Regions from separate parts of the Homo sapiens genome. Here region 2 is linked to region 1. Evidence: promoter capture Hi-C in 16 types of primary human blood cells and fetal thymus (Javierre and others, 2016). All regions are on one chromosome and are shown on one strand. Each heading gives the region's core, a stretch centred on a gene start or on the middle of the fragment in contact. The rest is flanking DNA. Distances are from core to core; before and after follow the strand shown. Region 1 holds the start of TOM1 (target of myb1 membrane trafficking protein). Region 2 overlaps BCL2L13 (BCL2 like 13).

What was found. Contacts are between HindIII fragments. The CHiCAGO score rates a contact against its expected background, and 5 or more counts as called.
Region 2: a contact is called between a fragment that was not itself captured here and the fragment with the promoter of TOM1 in region 1, in 1 of 17 cell types (M0 macrophages). The highest score is 5.7, in M0 macrophages.

What each region holds. Positions count from the first base shown.
Region 1 is chr22:35,296,700-35,301,900 of GRCh38, reverse strand. It overlaps TOM1 (target of myb1 membrane trafficking protein), which reads right to left and starts at 2,007. Exons shown (of 15, transcript NM_005488.3): 1 at 1,921-2,007. The coding sequence starts at 1,972. RefSeq lists enhancers at 342-863, 1,274-1,433, 1,387-1,909, 1,834-1,983, 1,910-2,432. The HindIII fragment of the contact is 3,434 bases long and covers 261-3,694 here.
Region 2 is chr22:17,675,850-17,680,957 of GRCh38, reverse strand. All of the region lies in intron 2 of BCL2L13 (BCL2 like 13), which reads right to left. Among named protein-coding and RNA genes, the nearest start is that of BCL2L13, 40 kb to the right of the region's middle. The HindIII fragment of the contact is 1,754 bases long and covers 2,398-4,151 here.

The DNA of each region.
Region 1 (5,201 bases), core at 758-3,257:
TGTAGTCAGAGAAATATAGATGAGAGGAGAGCTGCCTTCTCTTTTCAGCTCCAAAAAACCATGACTCACTGTGGGGTGGGTGTGTGTCCGGGGAGGGCAGGGGTCCTTTGAGAGGGCAGTTCCTCTCCCTGGTTCAGGAGCTTCCTGGTGTGTAAATCCTGGACTGCCACCTCCCCCTTGGAGAGCATTGATTACAAAACCTCGGAAGAGCCACCGACAGCCACGGTGGCGATTACAACACAGAGCCGGGTCGACAAGCTTTCGTGAGGTTTCGCAAGACACTAAGAATGGAAAATATGTCTCATCTTAAAGTTTTCCCAGTCTGGACTTAAGACGAAAAGTCGTCATCAAAAAAGATGAAGAGTAATTTCACGGTAATGCGATGGTTTCTTCATGCAAGAATGCGGAACACCCAAACCATCCTCCGGAGAAGTGTGGCTGTTTGGGTGAAGGCATGTCGGTTCTCATGGTGTTGGTGCCCAAGAATGAGCACCTATGAGATCTACTGCCAAGCGATTTCCAGGGATTCCTAACCTTCACTTGGTGATCTCAGGAACAACGTGTGTGTGTAAATACATATAATATATATGTATGTGTATGTATATGTATGTTTGTATGTGTATATTTTTATATATATGTGTGCGTGTGTGTGTGTGTATGTGTATGTGTTTCAAGAGATGGGCTCTCCCTGCGTCGTCCAGGCTGGAGTACAGTGGCGCCATCAGGGCTCACTGCAGCCCTGACCTCCCAGATCCAATAAATCCTCCCAGCTCTGCCTACCGAGTGGCTGGGTGCACAGGCACGCACCACCACGCCCGGCTAATTTCTGTATTTTTTTTTTTTTTTTTTTTTGTAGAGACGGGGTCTCGCCATGTTGCCCAGGCTGGTCTCGAACTCCTGGGCTCAAGCGATCTGCCCGCCTTGGCCTCCCAAAGTGCTGGGATTACAGGCGGGAGCCACCGTGCCCAGCCCAGTGATAATAAATATTACAACTGTTTTTTTTTATATGGCACTGGCCATGTACCAGGCATTGTTCTAAGTATTTCACATTTATTAAGGAATTTAATCTTCACAACAAGCCCACGGAGGTGGGGACCATTATTGCCCGCCAACTACAGGTGAGGAAACCTCGGCCCAGGGAGGCTGCGTCACAGAACTGTGAGTATCCTGTCACCAGGGTGCAGAGAACCACGGACCAGCAGACAGGCGCCAGGTGCCCTGGGCTTGGCTTGGCCCGAGTTCCCGGCTGCCCCACCTACGGAGCACCGAGATGGGCTGACCAGGAGGGTTTGTCCGACCACTGTCTGCTCAGGTTCTGAGAGTCTGTGCGGGTCCATTTGAGGTTGGGTCGAGAAAAGAGCCCAGGCGGACACGTCCTGAGACCCGGGTCTGTGAGGCCTGGCCGCGGGCTGTCCGGCGCTGGGCCCCTCTGGCCAGTTGGCCCCAAGACGCCAAGCCCGGGGCTTCGCGGTCCTGGGAGAAGGGACTTCTAGCCCTTCTCAGGTGTCTGTGTCCGGAGGGCCCGGTGAGCCAGGAAGGAGCTGGCCAGAGCCCAGGCGGCGGGACCCAGCAGAGTGGCCCAGCCACTGCCAACCACGCAGTCCCTTTAACCACGAAAACTTTCTCCCTCGATTGGGGACCCCAGCAGACGCACATTGGCTGCGCCGTGGGCATCCGGACCCACCCTCTCTCCTTACCTACTGGCTGTCATATACATCTATCACAAGCCAAGGCTTCCTAATGGCCCAAGTTCTTGTCAATCAAGAGTGGGAGGAAAGCTGGGCGGAGCCAGGTCGGAGAGCTACACGCCAGCCTCCTTGCCCTCCCTGCCTCCGTGACTAGGCACCCGGAGGCTTCCCAGGGGACCGAAGCTGGGTGCGGAGCACCGGGGCGGAGCTGTGGGGGGCTCCAGGGACTCACCGATGCGCTGTCCCACTGGAGAGCTGAACGGGTTCCCCAGGAGAAAGTCCATTGCTGCTACCGCCGCTGCCACCAACCCCGGGAATCAGCTGACAGCAACCGCCAGCGCCACCGACCCGTCACGTGACGCACTCGGAGGCCGGCGAGGAGGCGTGGGCGGGGCGGTGGCACCGCGAAGCTCGACCACAAGCCCCGCCCTGAGACGCCAGGGTCCCGCCCCCGAGGCGGAGGGCGATGACCTCACTGCGGCTTGCTCGGCGGCGGCGGGCGTCACACACGATGTAGGGTCTGGGGTCGGGGCCCGGGAAGCGCGGTCCTCTTTAAGCCACGCCCCTGACCTTTTAGGGCGAGGTCTAAAGGACCCTTTACACATTTGGGAAACTGGGTCGTAGACCAGGGAAGTGACTTGGGTGAGTTACACAGAAGCCGAGACTCTTAGGGTCATAGCCCTTAGTCCTTGGGACCTCACTGTGACTGCACACCTACCCTGGGTGACAGCCTCTCTGGGCTGTTGTCTCCTTGTCCCGGTAAGACTCTTCCTGTTTGATGTCAAGGTCTCCCCGCTCCAAGATGCACCCTGCTCGCAGCCCAAATTATCTTACCTTAAATCAGAGGCAAGGGCAAGGGGTTTGTCATCTGTTGAGACTGAGAGGCAATTTAATGAATTGCAGCGCAATTCCCTCTAGCGCCCAGGATGGCAAAAAGCACAGATGTAGTCACGAGTGGGGCTTTAATACCCGTCTCTGCCATAAATTTACTGTGTGAGCCAAACATAGCTCCCATTTTCTCTAGATACTGGAATTAGATCAAGGACTCGTAACCATTTTTAAAAAATATTTTATTTAGGTCACAGTCTCCTTTGAGAATTTGACAAAAGCCATGAGCCTTTCTGAAGAAAAAAGGCAGCGATACAATTTTGCTTATAACCTCAGGGAGTTTCTGGGGTCCCTGAAGTACAACCGTGGACCCCAAGCTAAGAATCTCAAAGGCCTTTCCCAGCGTTGTGATTCTAATCTCTTCAGCCTTCCTGGCTGTGTGTGGTGTGTCTGCTGACACCTACACACTAGATACCTATCTATGGGTTATGACCTTTTCTTCTGGCATGTACTCCAAAAATACAATAACCATGGCCTTAGTAGTCTGGCTACTGTGGGTGCTTAAGTACTTATTGTGATGTTTGTGGTTTTTAAATCTGAAAGGCTAGTAAATTGACTGCACAAATTTTGGATGACAGAAAACCTAAATTAAGCAAGGTGTGGTGGCTCACGCCTGTAATCCCAACATTTTGGGAGGCTGAGGCAGGTGGATCACCTGAGGTCAGGCATTCAAAACAAGCCTAGCCAACATGGTAAAATGCCGTCTCTACTAAAAATACAAAAATTAGCCAGGTGTGGTGGTACACGCCTGTAGTCCCAGCTACTTGGGAGGCTGAGGCATGAGAATTGCTTGGACCCAGGGGGGCAGAGATTGCAGTGAGCTGAGATCGTGCCACTGCACTCCAGCCTGGGTGACAGAGTAAGGCTGTGTCTTAAAAAAAAAAACAAACCTAAATTAGAACTTAATCACCTCTGTAGATTCACTTGTTTGAGCAGCCATGGGGTCCGATGTCTTTACTGTACAATATAAAAACTGCTTTGAAGTGTTTCCACAACACTCATGAGACCTGTTCACAAATGCCTTTGCCCCCACGAGTCTGGATGTCCCTGGGGGCTGGGCTACTATTTCTGTTTTGCTCCCCACTATTGTCTAACCCAGTAACTAGCACATGAAAGCTTAAATAGATCTACGTTTCAGTAATGGTATTTGGAGTATAAGCGGGGAGAAGGCCATTTAAGATGACCTTCAGGTCAAGGCACTTTCCATGTCTTTCTTCACTTAACCTTATTGCTTGGTCATATGGAGTTATGTTTAGCATGAACTTCTTTTGGATTCTTCCATTAACCTTTATTTATTTATTTTTAGAGGCAAAGTCTCACTATGTTGCCCAGGCTGGTCCTTGAACTTCTGAGCTCAAGTGATCCTCCCACCTCAGCCTCCCAAAGCCCTGGGTTACAGGCATGAGCCACCATCTCTGGCCCTTCCTTTAAGCTTTTAACAAGTTCTTGTAAACTTTATTCATGGTAAAAAAAAAAAAAAAAAAAAACAAAAAAAAACAAAAACAGAGACAACTCATATGCCCCCAAACAGGAAGTGGAATCATAAACTCCATGCAGGCTGGGCACGGTGGCTCACACCTGTAATCACAGCACTTTGGGAGACCCAGGCAGGCAGATCACGAAGTCAGGAGATCAAGACCATCCTGGCTAACACGGTGAAACCCCATCTCTACTAAAAAAATAGAAAAAATTAGCTGGGCGTGGTGGTGGGCGCCGTGGTGGGCGCCTGTAGTCCCAGCTACTCGGGAGGCTGAGGCAGGAGAATGGCGTGAACCTGGTAGGCGGAGCTTGCAGTGAGCAGAGATTGCACCACTGCACTCCAGCCTGGGAGACAGAGCGAGACTCCGTCTCAAAAAAAAAAAGAAAAACAACTCCATGCAAACTGATTACTATATAGCTATTGAAACAGAAATGGAAGTATATGGATTTATTTATTTATTTATTTTTAAAGACAGAGTCTCTGTCACCCAGGCTGGCGTACAGTGGTACAACTGTAGCTCACCGTAGCCCTGATCTCCTGGGCTCAAGTGTCTTCCCACTTCAGCCTCTTGAGTAGGTGGGACTGCAGATGCATGCCACCATACCTGGCTAATATCTTTTAGTTTTTGTAGAGATGGGGTTTTGCTATATTCTCCAGGCTGGTCTCAAACACCTGGCCACAAATGATCCTCCTGACTTAGTCTCCCAAAGTGCTGGGATTACAGACACGAGCCACTGCACCTGGCCAGTATATGGATTTTATCAACATAGTAGATAGGGATGTAAATGGCAAACATTAAAGTTAGTACAAAACTGATTAAAACTGTCTTTAAAAAGTGTGCTAATAAGGAGCAAACTGATTTAGTAAAAAGTGTTTCAATTTACTTTTTAAGTGTTTTAGTAAAATTAATATCATGCCTTACTGAGGGTTAAAATGTTCAAATTTCTTAAGATTGACAGTCTGCATAAATGTAATCTATTAAATCCTTTAAGTGCTTACAGACAAAAATCAAGATACCTTGCCTTCAAAATTTAAAGACAATAGTATGACAAGAGTGAAAGCCAGCTAGATACCCGAACAATGCAAAGATCTGAGACAGCATTCCCACAATCACATTCGCTCAGGACTTGAGATAATGGAAAGCA
Region 2 (5,108 bases), core at 2,025-4,524, about 18 Mb after region 1:
CCACACCCTACAGCGCCATCCCAACTGGCACCATACCTGCTGACCAGACCTCGCAGGTATGGTATGAAGAAACTATAGGCAGCAGCCTGCCATAAATCTTACTCAAGGGAGTGAGCTCTACCACTCACACGAGCTCAAGGACAATGACCAATCCTAATCACCAGCCTCATTATAATACTAAAATCACCACCCAGAAAGACGCTTATCTGCCACTTTCTGATCATGTGTTAGCACGATTCCTTACCGTGTCTGCACTCCACCCCACACACGTAGTGATGCTCACTTACCTCGTGAATCATGCATGCCACCCTCCTTAAGACACCGCAATGCACTCCCCTCGGAGAGCCAGCTGGAGAACCCTTCCTCCTGTGCTGTCTCCCTTATGTCCAACCTTTCTAGGTATGAGTCTTTTTTTCTTTTTTTTTTTTTTTTTTTTTTTTTTTTTTGAGACAGAGTCTCGCTCTCTCCCAGGCTGGAGTGCAGTGCAGTGGCTTGATCTCGGCTCACTGCAAGCTCCACCTCCCAGGTTCATGCCATTCTCCTGCCTCAACCTCCCGAGTAGCTGGGACTAAGGCGCCCGACACCATTCCCCGCTAATTTTTTGTATTTTTAGTAGAGATGGGGTTTCACCGTGTTAGCCAGGATGGTCTTGATCTCCTGACCTCGTGATGCGCCCACCTCGGCCTCCCAAAGTGTTGGGATTACAGGCGTGAGCCACCGTGCCCAGCTTTTTTTTTTTTTTGAGAGAGAGTTACGCCCTTGCTGCCCAGGCTGGAGTGCAATAGCACAATCTCGGCTGACTGCAACCTCCGCCCCCCGGGGTTCAAGCAATTCTCCTGCCTCACCCTCCCGAGTAGCTGGAATTACAAGTGCCTGCCAACACGCCCGGCTAATTTTTTGTATTTTTAGTAGAGATGGTGCTTCATCATGTTGGCCAGGCTGATCTCGAACTCCTGACCTCAGGTAATCCGCCCGCCCCAGCCTCCCAAAGTGCTGGGATTACAGGCGTGAGCCACCGTGCCTGGCCCATAAGTCTTAATATAGCCTTGTCTGGGAAACTTGCTTGGCCTTGTGTCAATTTCTATTACACAGGAGCCTAAGAACCTGTGGTTGGTAATAAGGGGAAAAAACGAACAAAGAAAACATTTGTATCCAGAGACTAGAACATAAAGGAGACCAAAACGTTTCTCCTGAATTCAAAGTGGGCAAATTTGGGGGTAAAACAGCACAGTTCCTTTTAAAGCTTTAAAAGCTTATATAAAAAGCTCAAGCTCTCCCTACATTGCAAAAATATTCTTTCTTGAATAATTTTTTTTTCTTCTACTTTCAGGTGATTTCAGTACTACAGAACATTTAAACAAAAAATTTAGGATAAAAAGAGCCAAACCAGCCAGGCACAGTGGCTCACGCCTGTAATCCCAGCACTTCAGGAGGCCAAGGCGGGCGGATCACCTGAGGTCAGGAGTTCAAGACCAGCCTGGCCAACATGGTGAAATCCCGTCTCTACTAAAAATACAAAAATTTGCTAGGCATGGTGGCAGGCGCCTGTAATCACAGCTACTCGGTAGGCTGAGGTGGGAGAATCACTTGAACCCAGGAGTTGGAGGCTGTGGTGAGCAGAGATCGCACCATTGCACTCCAGCCTGGGCCACAAGGGTGAAACTGTCTCAAAAAAAAAAAAAAAAAAAAAAAAGAGCCAAACCAATTGACATATGCAGCAGAATCCACATTCCCAGGACATGGGCCAGATTCACAATCACATCAATAATCCCAGCTTGGTTTTTAGCCAGAAGCATTCAGGGAAGTCAAGATAATTCAGAGTCATCCTAGGAATCTCACTCATTTCTGGAACTTAAATTCAGACTTACCTGAACACCCAGAGGATGCTGAATTGTATACTTAGCAACTAACCTTCTGTTAGAGGAGAGTGGTTTTTCATTTCCCTAAAGACTTGAGATAAGTAACTTGTGGGGACAATGAAGCCCCTACCTGGGTGTGGGGGAAGGGCCCTGCAATCAACTATACTCCACCATGCAAGAATTTCAGCAGAAAAACCAAACAAGCTAACAAAAAGCAGCATGAACTGGGCCACTAAGTTGCAGGTCTACCTACTATTCATTTATCCACTGAAGAAACATTGACTACCTGCTATTTATCAGGTATGTCCTGAAGCATCTACGCAGCACAAAAATGAGTAAGATTTGTCCAGCACATGAAACTATTTATATAGACTGGGGAAGTTCAGGAAGGGCAGGACAACAGCAAGCATTTACAAAGTACCTGTTACTTAACAGGCACGGTAGTAAACATTTCCTATGTGTTATTTCATTTAATTTCCAAGTCAACCTTATGAGGGATGAAATAATAGTTCCATTTGAAGATGAGGAAACTGAAGCTTGGATAGGTTCTACCACTACCATAAAGAAGTTATAATTGGAACTCTGGTGAGTCTGACTACAAAATCGTTAATCCAGGCTGTGCTCTCGTCATCTTCTGGTTGGGTGGCTAGGAATGAAAGATCTCAGAAACATTTCTGACATGATTAAATAGTTAACAGAGAGCAGAAAGGCTGTCTATATCGGTGATACTGTCTTCTGACAGGGACTTTCATGTCCCCTTATTTAATCTTCACTTCAGTTGGGTGTGGTGCTCATGCCTGTAATCTCAGCACTTTGGGAGGCCGAGGCAGAAGGATTGTTTAAGTTTAGGAGTTCAAGAACAGCCTGCGCAACATAGCTAGACCTTGTTTCTACGAAAAATAAAAAAAACTAGCTGAGCACAGTGGCATGTTCCCATCGTCCAAGATACTCGGGAGCCTGATGTGTGAAGATCACTTGAGCCTGGGAGGTCGAGGCTGCTGTGAGCCATGACTGCACCACTGCACTTCAGCACTTCTATATATTTTATGTTTCTAGACAGGGTCTCACCCTGTTGCCCAGGCTGGAGTGCAGTGGCACTATCATGGCTCACAAGAGCCTCAACCTCTTAGGCTCAAGCGATCTTCCCACCTCAGCCTCTCAAGTAGCTGGCACTACAGGTACACACCACCATGCCCAGCTAATTTTTGTGGGGTTTTTTTGTTTTTTTTTTGAGACAGAGTCTCGCTCTGTCGCCAGATCATGCAATGGCGCGATCTCGCCTCACTGCAACCTCTGCCTCCTGGGTTCAAGTGATTCTCCTGCCTCAGCCTCCTGAGTAGCTAGAACTACAGGTGCACACCACCACACCCAGCTAATTTTTGTATTTTTGGTAGAGACAGGGTTTCACCATGTTGGCCAGGATGGTCTCGATCTCCTGACCTCATGATCCACCTGCCTCAGACTCCCAAAGTGCTGGGATTACAGGTGTGAGCCACCGCGCCCAGCTGTGTGGGGTTTTTCTTTTTTTTGGTAGAGACAAAGTTTTGCCTTGTTGGCCAGGCTGGTCTCAAATTCCTGGGCTCAAGCAGGCCGCCCACCTTGGCCTCCCTCACGCTGGGATTACAGGCATGAGCCACCAGGCTCTGCCTATGTTTTCATTTTTTGCAACCAAATTAAAGAATCCCAAATTCTCAGATGGGCTTTGAATTAATTAATTCTATTAAGGTCAAGAAACTTGATTATTCTATCATCCACAGGTATTTAAAATACCTTTAAAAAACAAAAGGTTAAACATTTTTACGTATCACAGATTCTGATTCATTTTCTACTTTTAAAGCTGACAAAAATAACATGGCTTTAAGCGACATAAAACACTTTCCTTATGAGATGAGACTAACCAAAATAAAATTCAAATCCTTTTATTTTTTTATTTTTTTATTTTTTGAGAATAGGGTCTCACTATATTGCCTAGGCAGGTCTCAAACTCCTGGGCTCAAGCCATCCTCCTGCCTCTGCCTCCCTAAGTGCCAGAATCCTTAAAAGTTGAAATGTAACACAAAGGATCTCCTCAATGTCACCAATAGCATATACTTTGCTTAATGACATTTCACTTACTTCTGCCTAAGTAAATAACTTTGATAAACTACATTCATAAAAACTTGAAAATGTTACATAAAACAATCTATTATGCAAAAATTTGAGGCCAATTTATCCTAGAAAGATCCTATGCCAATTTATCCTAATCTTTATAAATTCTCATAAAGCATAAAAGTCTACCTTTACAGATAAGCTTCTACTAAATCTCCATTACTGTTTATAATTATAACAGGTTTTCCCTTTAGAAGTAATTTGTAGTGTTAGATGGCTCTGCAACAGCACTGATTAATATAACTGCACAAGATACAGTGATCTCCAGAATACATCATGACATTATTAAGTGAAATCAAACACAAGCTCAGAAATTAATTCACGGCCCATGCTATTTCTTGCAATAAAATTCTCTCTTTCCCTTCCAGCTTCCTGGAAAACAGCCGTAAAGTGGTTGATAAGCTTTGGAGTCAGGCCTTCTAACTCTTCACTTGGGCAAGGAAAATAATCTTCTTGACCCTCTCCTCTTTATGATTATTTTTTTAATTGAGACAGAGTCTCGCTCTGTCACCCAGGCTGGAGTGCAGTGGTGCAGTCTCGGCTCACTGCAACCTCCACCTCCTGGGTTCAAGCAATTCTCCCACCTCAGCCTCCCAAGTAGCTGGGAGTACAGGCGTGTGCCACCACACCTGCCTATTTTTTTTTGTTTTTAGTAGAGATAGGGTTCTGCCATGTTGGCCAGGCTGGTCTCGAACTCCTGACCTGAAGTGATCCGCCTGCCTCAGCCTCCCGAAGTGCTGGGATTACAGGCGTGAGCCACCGTCTCTCCTCTTATATAAAATGGGAAAATAATACCCACCACAAAGGGTAGTTGTGAAGAGTAATGAGATAAATGCCCAATCGACAGGTGCTCCCACTCACCAATTCTTTTCATGCTCTAAAATTGTATTATTAGATAATTATCTTTCCTGGCCCCTTATCTCTGTGAACAGAAATTAGCTCATCACAGATTTTTAATCAAAGATGCTTATACAGAACCTGCTTTCCACACTGTGAAAGGTAGGAATAGCAGGACAACCTCTGTCAGTTTAGATAATGCCATGTAATATAAAATAAGGCTGTTTTAACACAAACTAGGAGAAATCTTGACAGGCAGTTATT